Regions from separate parts of the Homo sapiens genome. Here all the other regions are linked to region 1. Evidence: promoter capture Hi-C in 16 types of primary human blood cells and fetal thymus (Javierre and others, 2016). All regions are on one chromosome and are shown on one strand. The core of a region is centred on a gene start or on the middle of the fragment in contact, and the rest is flanking DNA. Distances in the headings are between cores, read along the strand shown.

What was found. The method cuts DNA at HindIII sites, captures the fragments that hold promoters and counts their contacts. A CHiCAGO score of 5 or more calls a contact.
Region 2: a contact is called between a fragment that was not itself captured here and the fragment with the promoter of PPP1R14C in region 1, in 1 of 17 cell types (endothelial precursors). The highest score is 5.5, in endothelial precursors.
Region 3: a fragment that was not itself captured here is called in contact with the fragment with the promoter of PPP1R14C in region 1 in 1 of 17 cell types (endothelial precursors); the score reaches 5.0 in endothelial precursors.

What each region holds. Positions count from the first base shown.
Region 1 is chr6:150,141,694-150,144,419 of GRCh38, forward strand. PPP1R14C (protein phosphatase 1 regulatory inhibitor subunit 14C) reads left to right here and starts at 1,351. Exons shown (of 4, transcript NM_030949.3): 1 at 1,351-1,805. The coding sequence starts at 1,500. The HindIII fragment of the contact is 13,068 bases long and covers 1-2,726 here.
Region 2 is chr6:150,361,935-150,364,645 of GRCh38, forward strand. No RefSeq gene overlaps it. Among named protein-coding and RNA genes, the nearest start is that of IYD, 5.7 kb to the right of the region's middle. The HindIII fragment of the contact is 2,363 bases long and covers 236-2,598 here.
Region 3 is chr6:150,387,433-150,390,132 of GRCh38, forward strand. IYD (iodotyrosine deiodinase) reads left to right here. Exons shown (of 5, transcript NM_203395.3): 2 at 1,920-2,111. Among named protein-coding and RNA genes, the nearest start is that of IYD, 20 kb to the left of the region's middle. The HindIII fragment of the contact is 1,840 bases long and covers 465-2,304 here.

The DNA of each region.
Region 1 (2,726 bases), core at 101-2,600:
AGGCGGGCGGATCATGAGGTCAGGAGTTCGAGACCAGAATGACCAACATGGTGAAACCCTGTCTCTACTAAAAATACAAAAATTAGCTTGGTGTGGTGGCGAAAGCCTGTAATCCCAGCTCTTCAGGAGGGTGAGGCAGGAGAATCGCTTGAACCCCGAAGTCAGAGGTTGCAGTGAGCCGAGATCTCGCCACTGCTCCCCAGCCTGGGCAACAGAGAGACTCCGTCTCAAAAAACAAAACAAAACAAAACCGTTACTAAAAGCCGCTTACTTGTATTCATTCGGACGTCTCTGTGGTTTCTATCAGTTCCTGAACAGGAATGTATTGTTGTGTACAAGAAGAATATGTTAGTGTCTCCCTAATTTTACACATGCAGTTTTCTGTTTACAACTTCCCTCCCCACCTTATTGTCCTAACCCTTCTGAGAAGCTCCTTCATGTGTAACTACTAGGCTGTGATGTTTTGCAGTAGAGTCAGGCAGTGCTGTTGCCCTCCTGGGTGGAAGGGGCTGTTTGGAATGGGATGGAGAGAAAGCTGGCAGTGCACGGGACGCAACACTAGAAATGTGAAACCAGGACCCTGTCGCCGACCCTCTTAGAGAAATGTTTACTGTCTGGATGCCCCCAGACGCCTTGCCTGAGCGCCGTCACGCTTTCTGCCCTTTGGATACGAAGATATCCGAATGCTGTGCCCATGATTAAGCAGACGCTTAGTAAGGAAAGAAAACATTGGTCTGGAAATAATTTCTCAAGCGCCGTGACTGCCTTATTGCACAAACATCGCCTCTTCGATGTTTCTCACAATCCAGAGAGGAAGTGGCATCCATCGTGGCATGAATAGGAATGTGTGTTTGGAGCCGTGGGGCGGGGCTGGAGGGGAGGGGACGCTACCCAGCCAACAGAGGAGACGGTGGGGCTAGGAAAACCTCCTGGGGGAGCCTGCGGCGCGGTCCTTTCCTGTGTCCCCTTCGCTGCGGGTCCTGCCCGGGGCCGCGCCAGGTGGAGGCCCCGAGAGGCGGCGCGTTTCCTGCGCTCCGGGATTGCGGGAGAAGCGTGAGTCCCTGTCTCCGAGACTAGAGGCCACGGACACCCGCGCAGGAGCATCCCCTGGCACCCCGCCCCACGCCCGTCCTTCCGGAGTCTACACATCGGCGACCTCCCGTGTCTAGGCGCACACATTTCCCGCCCCGCGGAGACTCCCACGCCCCGGGCCCTCTCTGCCGCAGGCGCCAGATCCCGCCTCTGGGGGCTGGACCGAGAGGGTCCTCGGCGGCTTCTTTAAGGCTGCGGTCCCCGCCCCGTCGTCCTCCCCGCCCTCCTCCCTCTCGCCGCGGCTCCTCCCGCCCTCCCAGAGCAGCCGGGCGGCTGGGCGCGCGCGGCGCAGAGCAGGTGCCGGGGAGCCCTTCGCATGCGGCTGCCGGGCCGGAGGTGGTAGCGGCGCCGGGCGCGCTCCGCCCGCCCCTCCTCCGGGCCGCACTGAGGCTCGGGCGCGCGGGGACATGTCGGTGGCGACGGGCAGCAGCGAGACGGCCGGCGGGGCCAGCGGCGGCGGCGCACGGGTTTTCTTCCAAAGCCCCCGGGGTGGCGCCGGTGGCAGCCCCGGCTCCAGCAGCGGCTCAGGCTCCTCCCGGGAGGACTCGGCGCCCGTGGCCACGGCGGCCGCTGCAGGGCAGGTTCAGCAGCAACAGCAGCGGCGACACCAGCAGGGAAAAGTGACAGTGAAATACGATCGTAAGGAGCTTCGGAAGCGGCTGGTGCTGGAGGAATGGATCGTGGAGCAGCTGGGTCAGCTCTACGGCTGCGAGGTACCTGGGCGCGGGGCTGGGAGGGTCGGGGACCTCTCTAGCTCCTCTGTGCCCGCGCAGTAATTTTCCCGGGCTCCAGCTCCGGGGCGCGCATGTCCCTGACTCCCGGGGACCAAGTGCCAGGAGCGAGGCGCGGCGCCTTCTCTCCCCCGCGGTGCCCTCTGGCGTCGGGCTCAGCGGTTGGGACGCCCCTGTCTGGGTTCGGCTGCCGGTGCCCGGGGATCTGCGGGCCCCCTTGGTGGCCGTGGGGAGGGTTGGGTCCCGCGGAGCACAGTGCTTTTCTCCGAGCTCCGGGCGCCTCTGGGCTCCAGCTGCAGCTGCGCAAAGCGGGGCTCGGAGGGGCTCACTCCAGCTGCGCCTCAGCAGCGGTTGGGGATACAGCAGCCAAAGAGAGCAGCGCTCACTGCTGGGATCCGGGCAGCCCTGATTTTTGTGGAGAACGAGCAGGGAAGGAAGGAAGCTGCCTCGTGGAAAGGAGAGGTTCTGGGGATCTCAGAGGCCCCCTTGGTTCTTGAAATTCCCCGTGAAAATCCTGAGATGGAACGCTTTCCGCTTTCCAGCCAGCCCCGACGGTGTCTCCATAATTCCGCCCTGCATTATCAGAGCTGCACACGTTGTGCTTTGTTGAAGCCGTAGTTTTTCCTCTCTAAGCTCAGTTACTCCCATTGATGGGCGCAGAATGAGCATCTGGGGCAACCTCGACGGGTGCCTCGGTGGAAGGGCGGGAGCCCTGCGGGGGGCCTGCGGGATCCCGGGATCTGTCAGCTTCAGGCTCCCAGCTCCCCTCTCCTCCACGACATCGTGACTTCCCAAGGTCCAGGGACTAAGGTCATACACAAGTCTCAGGGACGTGTATACATTTGATTTAGGGAGAAATATGTAGAATAAACTGCAGCAAAACGACTGAAGCCAAAATGATCT
Region 2 (2,711 bases), core at 167-2,666, 220 kb after region 1:
CTTGGTTGCCAGTCCCCAAATGAGATAAGAAACATGTACTAGAATGTAAATTCAGAGACACCAACCACATCTCTACACACACTGTTTAGTTCCACTGGCCTTTTTGTGGGGGAGAGGGGACAAGACTTTCCTGAGGAAGGAAGCTGCGTTGATTACATTCTGGCACAAGCTCCTTTCTGGACTGGCACCTTGAGCAGCACTGTCCCAGAAGACAATGAGTTCAAGACTACATAAAAGCTTCAGCTCCTCCGTGGGTCCTGTCCCCTCTTAGCCTAAATCAGGGACTCTGTGTGTGTGCGATTCTATTGTCAGCCCACAGTTTAACAAACAAAGAGAGGCTCTCTAAAAAAAATAATTTTTACTTAAGGATTAGGAAATTGCAAGGTAATACGCATGCCGTAATAAGCTATGTTCATATTCAGGGAGGTAAGGGAAAATCATTTCTTTCTTTTATTATTAGTATTTTTAATTTCTAATTTAAATTTTATTATTATTTTCCCTTACCTCCCCAAATATGAACATAGCTTATTAATGGCATGCGTATTTTATTTTGATATAAAATAACTATCTCAAAATTTTGAGATAATTATCCTTGGCTACAAGGACCAATAATAAGAATGATGCCAATTCGAGATTGGACAGGCTGTTGCTGGGCAGATGTCCTCCCAGAAGTATTTTTTTTGTGTAAGGTTGTGATGACCTTTGTGTGAGATTATGGTTTTTGCAATCTTTTGGGAGAGTTCTGACACCTGCTACAACATGGATGAACCTCGAGGCCATTGTGGTAAGTGAAATAAGCTGGTGACAAAAGGACCAATGCTGTGTAGTTTCACATGATACGAGGTGCCTAGAGTCATCAAATTCACAGAGAGAGAAAGCAGTCTGGAGGTTACCTGGGGCTGGGGGAAGGTGAAAGGGGCTATTTAATGGGTCTCGAGTTTCTGGTGGCCTGGTGAAGAAGGTTTGGAAATACTGGTGATGGTTGCACAACATTGTGAATGTAACTGTAATGCCACCAACTGTACCCTTACAAGCGGTTAAGATGATCAACTTAATGCTATATATAGTTTACCACAATAAAAAATACAAAAAGTGCATGTTAATATATACATCTACTAGGTACCCCCAAAAATTTTCAAAATATTTTTTAAAAAAATTTAAGTGCATGCTAGTTGAAAAAAATCAAATTATATATATATGTATGTGTGTGTATATATATGTGTATATATATGTGTATATATGTGTATATATATGTATATATGTATATATATGTGTGTGTGTGTATATATATGTGTATGTATATATAAATAGCAAAGGTGAGAGAGGCCTGAGATAGGCAACAACCCTCCTCCCCTTCCCCTAGTCTCCAAAAATGCAAGGGAACAAATATCCCAAGAGACTTGGAAACTACTCCCAAGGGGCATGGAGATTGGTTGATGATGGACCAGCCAGAAGGGCCCTGTGATCTGGGTTTGGAGGTGGTGGGAGGCAGACTATGTCTGGGTGTAGGTGCAGCCTGCACACTGCCTGTTGCCTAAGACCACCAGGACTAGACCCTTCCGTGGGACCCACCAAGATGGGGCCACACCAAGACCCGCTTCTCTCTCTCTCAGTACCAGGACACTCTGTGGGCACCCGGGGAAATGGAAGGGCAAGAGACAGAATGATATTTGTCTCTGTATTAAAATAGAAGGGGTAAAATGGTCATTTACTTATTTGTTTATTTGTTACTTATTTGAGACAATGTCTTAGTTCATTCTCACACTGCTATAAAGATACTACCTGAGACTGGGTAATTTATGGGGGGAAGTACAACACTTTTAAACCATCAGATCTCATGAGAGCTCACTCACAATGATGAGAACAGCCTGGGGAAACCGCCCCCATGATCCAATCACCTCCCACCACATCCCTCCCTGACACAAGGGGATTACAATTTGAGATAAGATTTGGGTGAGGGCACAGAGCCAAACCATATCAGACAGGATCTTGCTCTGTCACTCAGGCTGGAGTGCAGTGGTGCCATCATAGCTCACTGAAGCCTCAAACACTTGAGCTCAAGTGATCCTCACTTAACCTCCCGAGTAGCTATGGGCCACCATGCCTGGCTAATTTTTTTATTTTTTATTTTGGTAGAGATGAGGTCTTGCTATGTTGACAGGCTGGTCTCAAACTCCTGGCCTCAAGTAATCCTCTTGCCTCGGCCTCCCAAATCACTGGGATTACAGTCATGAGCCACCGTGCCTAGCCAAAATTGTCTTGATAGCAAAATTAAATTTTCTGTCATCAGTGGAAATGAAATGATTAAACCAGACAACCAATCTGAAGTAAATAATGAAACACAACCAGTGTGAAAGTGTTTCATACCATCTTCCAAAGCATCCATCCGTAGCACACCCTTCCTTTTCCTCAGCTGATGAGAAAAACGTATTGGGAAGACAAGTTGACCAGGATGCTTTAGAGCTACTCAGAGTAGAGAGATAGTTGGGCCTTCCACAAGTCAGCAGTGTGGCAACTTACTATGCCCCCAACCACAGCTCTTCTTCTAAGGTAAAACCAAATGGAAACCCTGATATTAGCAGAGGCCTTTACCAATCAAGCTTGGTGGGGACCACAAGGCATTTGCTATCTTGACTTGACCGTGAAAGAGAGGCCTGGCCATGGAGATGGGTTGGATATGGAGAACTAGGGGTCTAGCTCAGGTTAGCATT
Region 3 (2,700 bases), core at 135-2,634, 250 kb after region 1:
AAAAAAAAAAAAAAAAGAATTTACCAGCCCTCTTGAATCTGTAGATCTGGTATTTTTCATGAGTTCTGCAAAAATCTCAGATGCTATCTTTTCAAATATTGCCTCCACCATATACTCTTTGAATCAAATGATCAAATGTATATTAGACATTCTCACTCTTCACTCTGCTCTATTTTTTCTTGCCCTTTCCTCTATATTTTCTATCTTTTTGTCTCTCCTTGCCCAATTCTAAGTGTTTTCTTCTGACTTACCTCCCAGTTCATTAATTTTTCTGTAGCTAGTGTAACCTGCTAGTCAACCATCCTTTTAAGTTCTTAATTCTATTATTTTTCAATTCCAGAAGTTCTCTATTTTTTCAGATTGTTTATATTAGCTTTTATTCTTTATTTTTGCTGTTGTTTTTATTTTTTCTTCTTTTTAATTTTTTTCCTTTTATTCTTTCCTGTACCCTACAGATTTATATAAGCTTGTCTTTTTTCTCTAAATACAGTAATCATAGTTGTTTTATCTTCTGGGTCTGATAATTCCAGTATTTGGAGTCTTTGGGCATCTGACTTTATTTTTTTAAAATTGATTCTGCTGTTTCTTGTCCAATATGTTTTCTTCTTTATGTGCCTGATTGCATTTGATGGGTTGCTGATGATTGTACTTAAAATTATTTGTATATTGGCATTTTCTTCTGCTAGACAACTGGGGTACTTTCAGGCAGGACAAGTTTATTCCAAGTTCAAGTTTGAGGCAAGACTCATCAAACTGATATAAACCGTTGAGGAATAATTTACTTATGATTGACACTTCCCCTAAGGATGTAGTTTTGGGGTCCTAGCTTATTAGACTTCACATTCTGTGTGGGCCTGGGCTTTGATATCTGTCACCCTTAATCCCTGAAGATATAAAAATGGAATTCAAATGTGTAGGGATTGGCAAATACAGTAGAGAAAAAAATGTACCTTCTGCACTTATCTACCTGTGTGAGTTCATATTTTCTCTTCACTTTGGCCTGCAAATTTCTTGCTATGTTGTAGGCTCAACGATTTTAAAAAAGACTTTGAAAAATACTTTATTTAGAGATCTGAGTGGTTTTCAACTGACAGGAGATTGTTTCAAATAACCTAGTCCATCATTAACAGAAATGTGAATTCCTCATCTTTTTTTGGTAAAATTTTTCTTTTTCTAGATTTATAGTCTGGAGTTTTTGCTTTCTTTCTTTCTTTCTTTCTTTCTTTCTTTCTTTCTTTCTTTCTTTCTTTCTTCTTTCCTTCCTTCCTTTCTCTTTTTTTTTTTTTTTTGATGGAGTCTCACTCTGTCACCCAGGCTGGAGTGCAGTGGTGCAATCTCGGCTCACTGCAACTTCTGCCTCCCAGGTTCAAGCGATTCTCATGCCTCAGCCTCCCAAGTAGTTGGGATTACAGGTGTGCACCACAACACCTGGCTAATTTTTGTATTTTTAGTAAAGACGGGGTTTCACCATGTTGACCAGGCTGGTCTCGAACTCCCAACCTCAAGTGATCCGCCTGCCTTGGCCTCCCAAAATGCTGGGATTATAGGCGTAAGCCACCACGCCCGGACTTTTCTTCCTTTTTTTAAAAAGAGACTGGGTCTGTCTCCATTGCCCAGGCTAGAGTGCAGTGGTGTGATGATAGCTCACTGCAGCCTTGAACTCCTGGGCTCAAGCGATCCTCTCACCTCTGTCTCCAGAGCAGCTGGGAATACACATGTGAGCCATTGCACCCAGCTGGAGTTTTAAGGATAGTCAAGATCAGTGGTAAGGATTCTGTAAATCTATTCTTTTTTCATTTTATAGTATTTTTTTGAGTTCATAACCTTACACATTTAAGCACTTTATCTTCTTCTCCCCAGCGGTCACCTTATGACCAAGGGATCATTTAGTTTGTTACCTTTCTTATTCTTATTTGCAGATGCTGATGAATGGCAAGAATCAGAAGAAAATGTTGAACACATCCCCTTCTCTCATAACCACTATCCTGAGAAGGAAATGGTTAAGAGGTCTCAGGAATTTTATGAACTTCTCAATAAGAGACGGTCAGTCAGGTTCATAAGTAATGAGCAAGTCCCAATGGAAGTCATTGATAATGTCATCAGAACGGCAGGTTTGTAATTGCAGATGGGGTCTTTGGAAATGTTAGTCACCTTACTGGTGTGACTCCAACAATGGAAAAATGTCAAAGTTTAAACATAGCGAATAAAGCCTAGAGTGATATGTTTATCTATAAAGTCTTACCCAAATGCTGAGTGAGTGCCAGAAACACAATGACTTCTACTTTCCACATTTTGACTATTACAAGCTTCTTGGAAGAAGATGTGACAATAGTTCAAAACTTCTGAAATTATTCAGTTCATGATCTTTTAATTAAAAACCAAGATTTCTGATCACATCATTATATTAATATATTGGAGGAGATACACCTTCTTTCTTTCCCTCTCCTTAAAACACACCAGACATACACACACTCGCATACTCACAGTTATATTTGTTTTTTTTGGAAGCAAATTTCTTATATTACACACCATGATGCTGTAGTACAGTATTCTCATTAACTAGCAAAGTTTACTTATGTAAATTTGCACAGTAAAACAAAGCAAGAAAAAACCCATTTTTAATGTAAATTAATATTTCCACTGAGGAAAAAAAATCAGAGCTACAGAAAATGGGGAGGAGAAATAAGAGAAAGCTCCCTA